4 separate regions of the Homo sapiens genome follow, and regions 1, 2 and 4 are each linked to region 3. Evidence: promoter capture Hi-C in 16 types of primary human blood cells and fetal thymus (Javierre and others, 2016). All regions are on one chromosome and are shown on one strand. The core of a region is centred on a gene start or on the middle of the fragment in contact, and the rest is flanking DNA. Distances in the headings are between cores, read along the strand shown. Region 1 overlaps KATNA1 (katanin catalytic subunit A1). Region 2 overlaps PPIL4 (peptidylprolyl isomerase like 4). Region 3 holds the start of UST-AS1 (UST antisense RNA 1). Region 4 holds the start of LRP11 (LDL receptor related protein 11).

What was found. The method cuts DNA at HindIII sites, captures the fragments that hold promoters and counts their contacts. A CHiCAGO score of 5 or more calls a contact.
Region 1: a contact is called between a fragment that was not itself captured here and the fragment with the promoter of UST-AS1 in region 3, in 1 of 17 cell types (activated CD4 T cells). The highest score is 5.4, in activated CD4 T cells.
Region 2: a contact is called between a fragment that was not itself captured here and the fragment with the promoter of UST-AS1 in region 3, in 1 of 17 cell types (total B cells). The highest score is 5.5, in total B cells.
Region 4: a contact is called between the fragment with the promoter of LRP11 here and the fragment with the promoter of UST-AS1 in region 3, in 4 of 17 cell types (naive CD4 T cells, activated CD4 T cells, naive CD8 T cells and 1 more). The highest score is 7.0, in naive CD4 T cells.

What each region holds. Positions count from the first base shown.
Region 1 is chr6:149,605,124-149,607,823 of GRCh38, reverse strand. All of the region lies in intron 4 of KATNA1 (katanin catalytic subunit A1), which reads left to right. Among named protein-coding and RNA genes, the nearest start is that of GINM1, 40 kb to the right of the region's middle. The HindIII fragment of the contact is 3,717 bases long and covers 1-2,700 here.
Region 2 is chr6:149,522,962-149,525,754 of GRCh38, reverse strand. It overlaps PPIL4 (peptidylprolyl isomerase like 4), which reads left to right. Exons shown (of 13, transcript NM_139126.4): 9 at 546-612. Among named protein-coding and RNA genes, the nearest start is that of PPIL4, 22 kb to the left of the region's middle. The HindIII fragment of the contact is 2,601 bases long and covers 122-2,722 here.
Region 3 is chr6:148,963,302-148,966,001 of GRCh38, reverse strand. UST-AS1 (UST antisense RNA 1) reads left to right here and starts at 1,318. Exons shown (of 3, transcript NR_038408.1): 1 at 1,318-1,441. UST (uronyl 2-sulfotransferase) reads right to left here. Exons shown (of 8, transcript NM_005715.3): 5 at 1,439-1,592. RefSeq lists enhancers at 1,277-1,853, 1,854-2,430. The HindIII fragment of the contact is 7,762 bases long and covers 1-2,700 here.
Region 4 is chr6:149,862,958-149,865,717 of GRCh38, reverse strand. LRP11 (LDL receptor related protein 11) reads left to right here and starts at 1,359. Exons shown (of 7, transcript NM_032832.6): 1 at 1,359-2,310. The coding sequence starts at 1,698. RAET1E-LRP11 (RAET1E-LRP11 readthrough) reads left to right here. Exons shown (of 15, transcript NR_182438.1): 8 at 374-502; 9 at 721-833. RAET1E-AS1 (RAET1E antisense RNA 1) reads right to left here and starts at 2,220. Exons shown (of 2, transcript NR_045126.1): 1 at 1,336-2,220. RefSeq lists an enhancer at 1,048-1,548 and silencers at 1,205-1,654, 1,725-1,784, 1,925-2,034, 2,205-2,354. The HindIII fragment of the contact is 13,305 bases long and covers 1-2,760 here.

The sequences.
Region 1 (2,700 bases), core at 15-2,514, 640 kb before region 3:
AAAGTGCTGGGATTACAGGCGTGAGCCACTGAGCCCAGCAAAAGAACTAGTTTTAAACCCAAGGACTTATGTCCTGATTAATCCGTCTATCTGAAACTTTATTTTGAGCATGAAAAAAGGAGTCTAGGTCCCTTTGAATCCCTCAACTGTTTTTTTCCACTTCCTACTGGTTACTGTTTTCACTTAGAACAAGTTATTGTTTGTTTTTATTTGAGATGGAGTCTTGTTCTGTTGCCCAGGCTGGACTGCAGTAGTGCAATCTCAGCTCAGTGTAACCTCCGCCTCCTGGGTTCAAGCGATTCTCCTCTCAGCCTCTTGAGTAGCTGGGACTACAGGCATGTACCACTATGCCCAGCTAATATTTTTGTATTTTTAGTAGAGAGGGGGTTTCACCATGTTGGCCAGCCTGATCTCGAACTCCTGGCCTCAACTGATCCACCCCCCTCAGCCTAAGTGCTAGAATTATAGGCATGAGCCACTGCACCTGGCCAGGAGCAAATTATTAGATAGATGTATATCTAAAAGAAATTGTACTACTTCAACTAATTAAGTAAAATCCTATTAAATATGTCAGCATTTGAAGTTCCACAGCTTTCTTTGGCTGTCCTATTACAACACTGTTTCTTTCTTCTGCCTACTTAAATTTGTTTTGCTTTGTCTGCGAACATTCCCTTAGTACTGTGTTCTATGGGAGAAAAGAAAGAGAAAGAGAAAATGCCTTATATTTGTATCTTCCCTGGCTTACAGTATATGTTCCTGATAGTCAGGTACAGTGTCCTTTTCCTGTTCTCCATAGCTGCTAACACAGAACAGATACTTGTTAAATATCTGTAAATGAGTAACAACTTTATAAATACTTTGAAGAAAAGATTATCTTCTTCTCTTTTAAATGTTACACAGTTCTGGCTGGGTGTGGTGGCTCACCCCTGTAATCCCAGCACTTTGGGAGGCTGAGGTGGGCAAATCACCTGAGGTCAGGAGTTCAAGACCAGCCTAGCTGACATGGTGAAACCCCATCTCTACTAAAAATATAAAAAGTTAGCCAGGCATGGTGGTACATGTCTGTAATCCCAGCTACTCGGAAGGCTGAGGCAGGAGAATTGCTTGAACCGGGGAAGCAGAGGTTGCAGTGAGCCAAGATCGTGCCACTGCACTCCAGCCTGGGCAACAAGAATGAAACTCCATCTCAAAAAAAAAAAAAAAAAAAGTTACACAGTTCCTTCCTTGAATCTTTTATGCTAATATTGGAGGCTCAATACACACATTGTGGAACTGATGCTTATTTGGCCATCTAGGTTAACATTTTGAATATCATAAATATTGGTTAAGTCTGGACATTAATAATGGCATTAGACAGCACCAGTTGGCAAAGGAATCATCATGTTACGTGCAAAAAAAATGTTATGGGAATTGGGTAACAATCTTAGTACGGCAGAAAAAATGTTTATTTACCCTAATGCAGGGCTTCATAAATTTTCTTGGCCTATAATATTCATAAGTATCTTAGTAATTTTTATATAGCATCTCTAGGCCAGGATACCCATCCACTTATGAAAAATACCTATCCATTTATGAAGAAGTTAGGTTCAAACAGTTTATGTTCTAGCAGTTTAACACCTATTGGGCCCTGTTACACAGTTTCTCAAACCCTGCAGTCAGAACGGACATTCTACCCTCATTCCTCTTCCACATTGATTTTCTCTCTGTACATCTTATCACAGCAACTGCCCAAAACCCAGCTTCACAAAAATATGGTATTATTCAGGCCGGACACAGTGGCTCACACCTGTAATCCCAGCACTTTGGGAGGCCGAGGTGGGCGGATCACTTGAGGTCAGCAGTTCAAGACTAGCATGGCCAACGTGCTGAAACCCCATCTCCACTAAAAATAATTAGCCGGGCGTGGTGGTGCACACCTGTCATCCTACTCAGAAGGCTGAGACAGGAGAATTGCTTGAACCCAGGAGGTGGAGGTTGCAATGAGCCAAGATCACACTACTACACTCTAGCCTGGGCGACAGAGTGAGACTCTAGCTCAAAAATAAATAAATAAATAAATAAATAAAGCATTATTGAAGAGGAGTATAGCAGTCTTATGTAGGAATCGTGAACTACCTCTAGCTAGTAGTTCACACAGTGTTCAACAGATGTTGCTGTGTTTCTTTCAAAAATTTAAACTATCCCACAATACCTCGTGAGTTTGCCATTGTGTCCTGGGTATTGAGTACATAGTTTGGGAACCGTGGCCCTAATGACTGTCATCACAGAGGATGAGAGGAATCCCATGTAAGGACTGAGATGTGTCTTTTGGAGGGTAGTGGGAATAATGAAAAGGGATATTTTTAGGAGCATTGATGAGGGACAAGTAGGTGTTTAAAGATTGAGCCATAGTCTTGGCTAAATAAGCCATCTGTCTTTAATCTTATCTCCTCTAAAGGATTGAAATACATTTTGTGTATATCTGATATTCACTTGCGACCACATTTATCTCAGTATTAATTTTTTTATGCTAGCCAGTTCATTTGCATGGTCATTTTTATTTTTCTTTGATACTTTTGATGTATCAAACCAATGTTGATGTAGAAGGATGACTTAGAGTCTTTGGTCCTATCCTTGTTATTGTATTATTATTATTAGCCTTTTTTTTTTTTGAGTTGGTGTCTCGGTCTGTCACCCAGGCTGGAGTGCAGTAGCATGATC
Region 2 (2,793 bases), core at 173-2,672, 560 kb before region 3:
CAACTTCAGCTTATTGGCCTTTTCACTTGGTTATTATGGTATATTAGTTCTGTAATTAACATTGTGCTTACAGTGTTAAATTTGAGCTTGATTTATATTAAAATTCAAAAATTTCAAAGCTTGAACTTAAACATTTATATATGTATGAGTATGCATACATTATTCTACAGTAATGTTAGATGTTAGATATTCTATAATTCGACTATATTTGGACTAGAAAAGTGTTGTGATTTTAAAAGTCTTTAGCAGTAGTTTACTTTTGCCAAAGGAAAATTAAATATTTTTATTCTTACTTCAGTGCTTAAGGGAATTTAGGACTGTAGGCCTATATAAGGCACTTAGAGTAGAATTTAGATAATTTAGTTACTGCTCTGGTGAACTACTTTTAAAAAAGAATTGTTATTAAATGAATTTGGAAAAATAATCTATGAATTTAACTTTGCCTTGTAGTAACTGACTTATTTCTTCTTCAGTTTTGAAGAGTGAGAGTGAATGCTTTCTTCCTTTTTTTTTTTTTTAAGTCACTTTTAAATACTTTCTTTCAGTTGTGAAGTTATCCGAGACTGGAAGACAGGAGAGTCCCTCTGTTACGCTTTTATTGAATTTGAAAAGGTATGTCATAATACAGACATAAGTTTGGTATTTATTTGCTTTTATATGGTATTAAAATGTGAAAAATTATAGAACTTTTTCTAGTTTCTAGAGTTGCCCTTTCTTTTGGCACTCCCCAAAATTAAGTTTATTGTATCTATATAGGGGATAAGTTCAACATCTGTTGATGTTAACATACGTACTTTTACTTTAGGTTCAGGTGCAATCTGCATGAAAGTATCTTTAGAACTTTTTTTTTTTTTGAGACAGGGTCTCACTCTGTTGCCCAGGCTGGAGTGCAGTGGCGCAGTCTCGACTCACTGCAGCCTCCGCCTCCTGGTTCAAGCGATTCTCTTGCCTCAGCCTCCCCAGTAGCTGGGATTACAGGTGCCCACCACCATGCCCTGCTAATTTTTTTGTATTTTTAGTAGAGACAGGGTTTCACCATATTGGCCAGGCTGGTCTTGAACTCCTGACCTCAAGCAATCCACCTGCCTCGGCCTCCCAAAGTGCTGGGATTATAGGCATAAGCCACAACACTCAGCCAATCTTAGAACTTTTTAAGTTCTAAGTAAAGCCCTTCAGAGACTCTTAATTTTTCCCTGTTACTTAAGTGGAGATAAAGTTGAGTAATAGAAAGAGAACTGAACTGGGTGTTAAGATTTAGATATTAATACATCTTTTGTTATTAGCCAGCTATTGTATGATACTTGGCAGTTTAGTTAACCGTTCTTTCTAGGTCTTACCTTCTTATAAATAAAACTTGGGTATTAGAATAGATGGCCCCTTCTAGAGCTGTAATAATGATAGCTTATGTTGCTTAAATATTTACTTTAAGCTAGGCATTATGTTACTTTTGCTGCATTTAATCCTCACAGTTCTGTAAGATAGGGACCATCCCCTTTTCCAAATAAGTTAACTGAGACACATAATGCTAATGTGACTTGTTCAAAATCACACACCTAGTGAATGAATGTCATAGCTGGGATTTGAACTCAGATATGTCTGATTCTGTTCCCATTGAGTTTACACTGTGCTATGGTATGCTCTTTTTTAATGCAACTTTGGACTCATATGTATCCAGTAGTAGCTCATTCTAAGTTCTAATTATTACAAAGCATTTATGGAATACCTTTTATGTTTTCAGACACAGCAATAAGGCCTAGGGATACAAGATGAATCATGGAGGGTTGGGGAAGATAGACCATAAAGTTATATGTAGGCACTGTGTCAGATGTACCAGAAATGATACTTACAAGGTACATTGGTGCCAGCAGAAAGACCTTTACCTTTGGTTTGCTGTGAAAACTTGTAGACCTGCACTAGCATTCTATCATTGACACTATAGAATCTATTATTTATTTTCTCACAAATAAAATTTCATTTGTAGCACATAGACTAATGACTGCCCATGTTTTGAGTTTTTTGCAGCTATGCCATTTTCTTCTTTTTTTTTTTTCTTTTTATTTTTTTGAAACAGAGTTTTGCTTTGTCACCCAGGCTGGAGTGTAGTCGCATGATCTCAGCTCACTGCAACCTCCGCCTCCCAGTTTCAAGCGATTCTCATGCCTCAGCATCCCAAGTAGCTGGGATTACAGGTGCTTGCCACCACACCTGGCTCATTTTTGAATTTTTAGTAGATACAGGGTTTTATGATGTTGGCCAGGCTGGTCTTGAACTCTTGACCTTAAGTGATCCACCTGCCTTGGCCTCCCAAAGTGCTGGAATTATAGGCTTGAGCCACTGCACCTGCTGTTTTACTTTTTTATTGATCTCTAAGGATTCTTTATATTTTCTGGATGCAAGCTCTTTTTTGATTATGTGTGATACAGATATCTTCTCTGTGGATTTCCTTTTACTTTTTTTTTGTTTTTTAAGGGACAGGATCACTCTGTGTTGCCCAGGCTGGACTTGAGCTCATGGGCTCAAGTGATTCTCCAATTTTAGCTCCTGCATAACTGGGACCACAGGCATGCCTTTTTCCTTTCTTAATGGTGTCTTTTTATAAACAAATTTCTAATTTTAATGGTTCAGGTTGTCAGTATTTTTCTTCCTTTTTAGTGGCCTATTTAAAAAATATTTTCCTACTTCAAAGACATGAGGATATTCTCCTGTATTATTTTTAGAAGCTTTGTTGTGAAATTGTTTCCCATTCAATTCTGTAATTTGCTTTTGGTGTATTGTATTACATTGTTTCGTTTT
Region 3 (2,700 bases), core at 69-2,568:
TGCACCTGCCTCGGCCTCCCAAAGTGCTGGGATTACAGGCGTGAGCCACTGCGCCCGGCCTCATAACCTATAAAGAAATAGATTAGGGTTTCGCCATAAAAACTAAAAAAAAAAAAAAAAAAAAAGGGAAAAGCCACTTTTAAAATATATCATCAAAGGAAGAAAATAAAAATAAAAATAAAATCATCAAAATATTTCACTGAAGCCTTAGGTAGTTGATCAAATACCGAAGGTGAGTGGAAAGCCGTGGGTCTGGTGTAGTCGTCTGGCCCTGGCTGAGACACTAACTTCTCTGTATCTCAGTTTTCTCTACTCTAATCATGGATTTGAAAACATGAACGTGACACTGAGGGGACATCATCCCCAAATGCTCCCAGCCTCTGAACATCCACTTCCATTATGTTTTTAAAATGAGATGAGGAAGCAGCCGTCCTGGCCGTGGCCCTGAGATTCGGTGCTTTTCTCCAGCGGCAAGGCTGCTGCTGACGGCACATCAGCAGTGGCCTCAGCTCTGGGCGATCTTCCAGCTTTGGGAACAACACCTCTGACTGATCCTCAACACTTCCTACTTTCCTGCTTGTGCCCGACAACAGCCCAGGATGGGTCCGGGTGAACCCCAAGGGCTCTCTCAGACACAGAGACCAGGATTTCAGCCTCCTGGGCACCAGGCTGTCAGCTCCTCAGTACATGTTTCTCAACACAGGGATGGGAAATGTACCTTTCGTTCTAGTGCTGAAAGAAAGACGCGCAACTCCGCCCTCCGTTTTTGTTACCAACCTCTGTGCTGCGGAAATAATTACTGGGCTCGAGACTAACATCCCTTATGGAGCTGAGGGTCCCAAAACAAGTCCAGAGAAAGCAAACAATTACTGGTGCAATGACAGGGTTCTATCGCGCTGTGGTGGAAAGAACCCAGACTGTGAAGGCAGGAAACCCGAAACAGTCGGTCGCAGTTGCGCCCTTACCTGAGAGGTGACTGTGGCAAATCCCACAACCTTTAGAATCTCAGGGTCCTCATCTGAAAACACCTCCCCCTCCCAGAGTGGTCATGGGAACTGAATGGGCTGAGGGATGAGAAGGGGCTCTGCCGCCCTCTAACAGACACCCCCCCAACACCTTTGTTCTTCTTAAGCACTACAGTGCTAGTCAGGACTCCTTAGGAAAGACTGTTAACGCTCTGGGTCCCAAAACCTAGCACTAAAGACAACTGAGCAAAGCAAAATCAGAAAATAATTTGAGGAAATGTTCATTAGGATCTGGGTCACCCGGAACCAGTTTCTCTCGCCAAGACCTCCTTCCTGCGGAAGCACCCTCTCTGCGCCACGCTCCATGGAGGCGCCAAGGAGAAGGCCTGGGAAGGGAAGAGTGAACCTTCCCTGGTGGAGGGCCCACTCCTCAGGCAGTGGGGAGACCGCCTTTTGCATGCGACAGGACTTACCAGGTAGCGCTCCTCCTGCCTCATGCTGGGGGTGCGGATCATGTGATTTTGTTCCCCTCTCCAGTCTCCAAAGCGACGGAAAAAATAGTTGGATAAGAACCGGTTGACGGGGTCTCTAATGATGTTGATGTAGACAGGCTGGTCTCCTCCAAACCTAACACAAACATTGAGTTCGTTACAACCCATCACTGCAGGACGAAAACAGGGCCTACTTAGACAACATCTCCCCTTCCCTCTAGGTTAACTTATTGAAAGATGACCTCCTATGCTAAGGTGCCAATGACACGTAATAAGCAAACGGTGTTTCCTGATAAGCATTTTATTATCATGCAGGAAGTGGGGAGGATGATACCTGTTCCAGGTACCTGTTGAGGGGCTGTGAGGACATTTCATAGTATAGCACGGTACAAACCACACCATTGTGCATGTTAAGGAAGAGATGGTGTCTAGTTTTCTCACCAGGCTGTAGGTTTCTTGAGGATGGGGGCCACTCTGTATTGGATTTAGTATTTCCAATGGCTAGAACAGAACCCACAGGGACACAATTGGCCCTCGGTGAATGTTTCAGTTGATTGGTAGGTTCTGACTGCCTTGCTGGGTGAGACGGCACTTCCTCTATATTGTAATTCAAACAGTTCCGGGTCAGGTGCTCTGCAGTAAGGGAGTGAATAACAGCCAGTCTTCACTGAGCACTCGCTATTCACCTTGTTCTAAATACCTCATGTAACCAGCTTGCTGAAGCCCCATAACACGTCAATGGAGTAGAAAAAATAATTATCCTCATTTACACTTGGGGAAACTGAGGCAGGAATAAGGTTCATAACTTGTAGCTGAACTAGGATATGGGTCCAGGCAATCTGGCTCTAGAATCTATGCTCTTAATTATGGAAAAGTGATTTCTGGAGTTGAGGAAATTTTGTGTGGGATATCAAGAATGAAACAAAATTCAACATAATTATCCTCAAGTGATGGCAAGTGGCTTCAGATAAAAATAAAGCAAATAGCCAGGTGTTCCATTTTAATTCCTTCCATGAAAGGATTAGATGAATCCACTAAATCTTGGCCCAAGAACAAGGTCTTCCCGAAGCAGAGTGATGAGATTGGCTGGATTTCTCTTAATGATTCCTTCTTTTTCTCTTTGAACTGCTTGAAAGCAGTAGCCTTGAGGAGTTCGGGGAGAGTGCCCCAGTCTCTGGGCAGAGGGCATGCTCTGGTGACCTCCTGAGGGGCCTGCAGGGTTCTCTAGCCCTATGGCCTCGTGA
Region 4 (2,760 bases), core at 110-2,609, 900 kb before region 3:
GTGTGGGATGAGTATGCCATATGAGGAAGAATCTCCAGGCCGAAGTGGTACAGTCCAGACACAGCCTTTAGAGCTAAGAGGCCATTTCTTTTAGCCTCAAAAATCACTCAAATATACCCCTGCAAAAACTTTATAATTTCTCCCTTTGATGGAATGGCAAGTAACATTGAGCTTTTTTCTTTCTTTTCTATTGCTACCTTTTAATTTTACCTCCTACTCTGATCTGGATCTGCAAGCAATGGGTTCCTAAATGTCAACTCTGGAGATAATAAACACATAGCAGAGACTGATATTTTCCCACCAATTATTTATTCTTTCAATCCTAAAAAATACAGACACTTAACAGTGTTCTATTTACAATGTGCGCATCCAGGCAAAAATTTCCGGACAGGCTAAAAAGCAAGAAAATGCGATCCACAATCAGGAGAAAAATGAATCAACAGAAACTGATTCAGAAACAAACAAGATGCAGATGCTGCTCACAGAAGTCTAGAACGCCAAGGTGAAGCCCCCACTGGGTTGGACATTTTCTTATTCCTTATGTCATTTAAAGCACAACTCCCGAGATTTTACGTGATATAACCGCTAGAGGCCTCTCTGTCACAGGCTGTATTACTCCCAGGTCCCCATGTTGGCTGTGTTCAGATTTTTTGTTATATTTGTGGAAATCTGAGTGCATGTGACGACTGCTATTTATGGGTTTTGTTTTTATTTTTAAAGACAGGGTCTTGTTCTGTCCCCCAGGCTGGAGTACAGTGGTGTGATCACAGCTCATTGCAGTCTCGAACTCCTGGGTCCAAGCCATCCTCCCAACTCAGCCTCAGGACTTACAGGCGAGTACCACCTCACCAGGCTTGATTTTTGTGTTTTTAAACAGACTGAACATCTTTCAGTACTTCCCATCCCCACCCCTCCCGGCCCTGACTCCGCCACCCCAACCCCGCCCCACTTTGTACTACCCAAGCACATCTTGGGAACATGATGCGGAAAGTCAGGGACGCTGGAGGTGAAGGACTGATGACGCGCTACGGTGGTCCTAGGTGCGCGTGCCCCCTCTCTGGAGTAGTCCCGGGGGTCACGAGGATTTGAAGACAGGCCCTCCCTTCCCACTGCCCCCATTCCCCCGAATGCCAAGCCCCTGTGGGCAGGCGCCCTGGGCAGGTGTGGTTGGTTGCTAAAGCCTGCTGGGCCCAGACATGAACCCTGCCCTAGCTGGGCAGCGGCGCGGGAGCAAAGTTGTTCTGAGGCTGCCCTCCCCGGGGCCTGCTCTCCCAGCCCTGGAGGAGCCGGCGCGAGACGCGCGGGGGCGGGGCCGCGCGGGGGGGCGGGGCTCACCAAGGCTCCACCCCGCCGCGGCCACTGTTCGCACACACCTGGTGCTGATCAACGCCGAGGCCGACTCGTCGCCACCCAGCGCGCCGCAGGCCGGGGCGGAGAGGCGCAGGGCGCTGGGCAGTCTCCGGCGAGGGCAAGGAGCGGTGCCCGGCTGGGCCGGCTATGTCTCCCGCTACTGCGGTTCCCGCCGGCGCCCGCGACCTCGGGGGAGCAGCCGGGTTCGGGGGCGCCGCGCTGTGAGGCCGGGGCCTAGAGCCAGCCGCGGCCGCGCAGGAGGGGCCCAGGGCCCGCGCTCGCCCGCGTCCCCGCCTTCCTCCCGCGCTCAGCCCCGCCTCGGCTCGCTGCCCTTGGCTCTCGTCGCCATGGCCTCCGTCGCCCAGGAGAGCGCGGGCTCGCAGCGCCGGCTACCGCCGCGTCACGGGGCGCTGCGCGGGCTGCTACTGCTCTGCCTGTGGCTGCCAAGCGGCCGTGCGGCCTTGCCGCCCGCGGCGCCGCTGTCCGAACTGCACGCGCAGCTGTCGGGCGTGGAGCAGCTGCTGGAGGAGTTCCGCCGGCAACTGCAGCAGGAGCGGCCTCAGGAGGAGCTGGAGCTGGAGCTGCGCGCGGGCGGCGGCCCCCAGGAGGACTGCCCGGGCCCGGGCAGCGGCGGCTACAGCGCAATGCCTGACGCCATCATCCGCACCAAGGACTCCCTGGCGGCGGGTGCCAGCTTCCTGCGGGCGCCGGCGGCCGTGCGGGGCTGGCGGCAATGCGTGGCGGCCTGCTGCTCCGAGCCGCGCTGCTCCGTGGCCGTGGTGGAGCTGCCCCGGCGCCCCGCGCCCCCGGCAGCCGTGCTCGGCTGCTACCTCTTCAACTGCACGGCGCGCGGCCGCAACGTCTGCAAGTTCGCGCTGCACAGCGGCTACAGCAGCTACAGCCTCAGCCGCGCGCCGGACGGCGCCGCCCTGGCCACCGCGCGCGCCTCGCCCCGGCAGGGTAAGCGCGCGACTGAGGGGCCGGCCTTGGCCAGAGCGCTCGAGACCCGCAGCGCCCTCGCCAAGTTGGAAGCGAAACACACTCGTGCCAAGTTATTTTAGCCGCGGGCACCCAGAAGAGTTTCTGGCATGGGTTTCTCTGTCTTAGGGAAGAGGAAGCCCAGTAGTTTGGCAGAAGCGGGCGGGCGGGCGCGGTGACGTGCTACTGGAATTTTTCTAGGCTTGAAGAGAAAGGCTGATCTGAGAGGATTCGTGGAAATATGACTTAAAAGGGGAGAAATGCTGAGAGAAAAAAGTTTGTTTTAGTCTCATGGGTTGTATAAGGCATGGTTTGTGTTAAGTAATTGCAAGAGCAAAATCTAATTAGATGCCGGGCTTCTCGTAACACCCACTCCTTTTTCTTGACGTGGCTCTCCTGACTTTGCCTGCGGTGGCTTTCATCATACAAAAA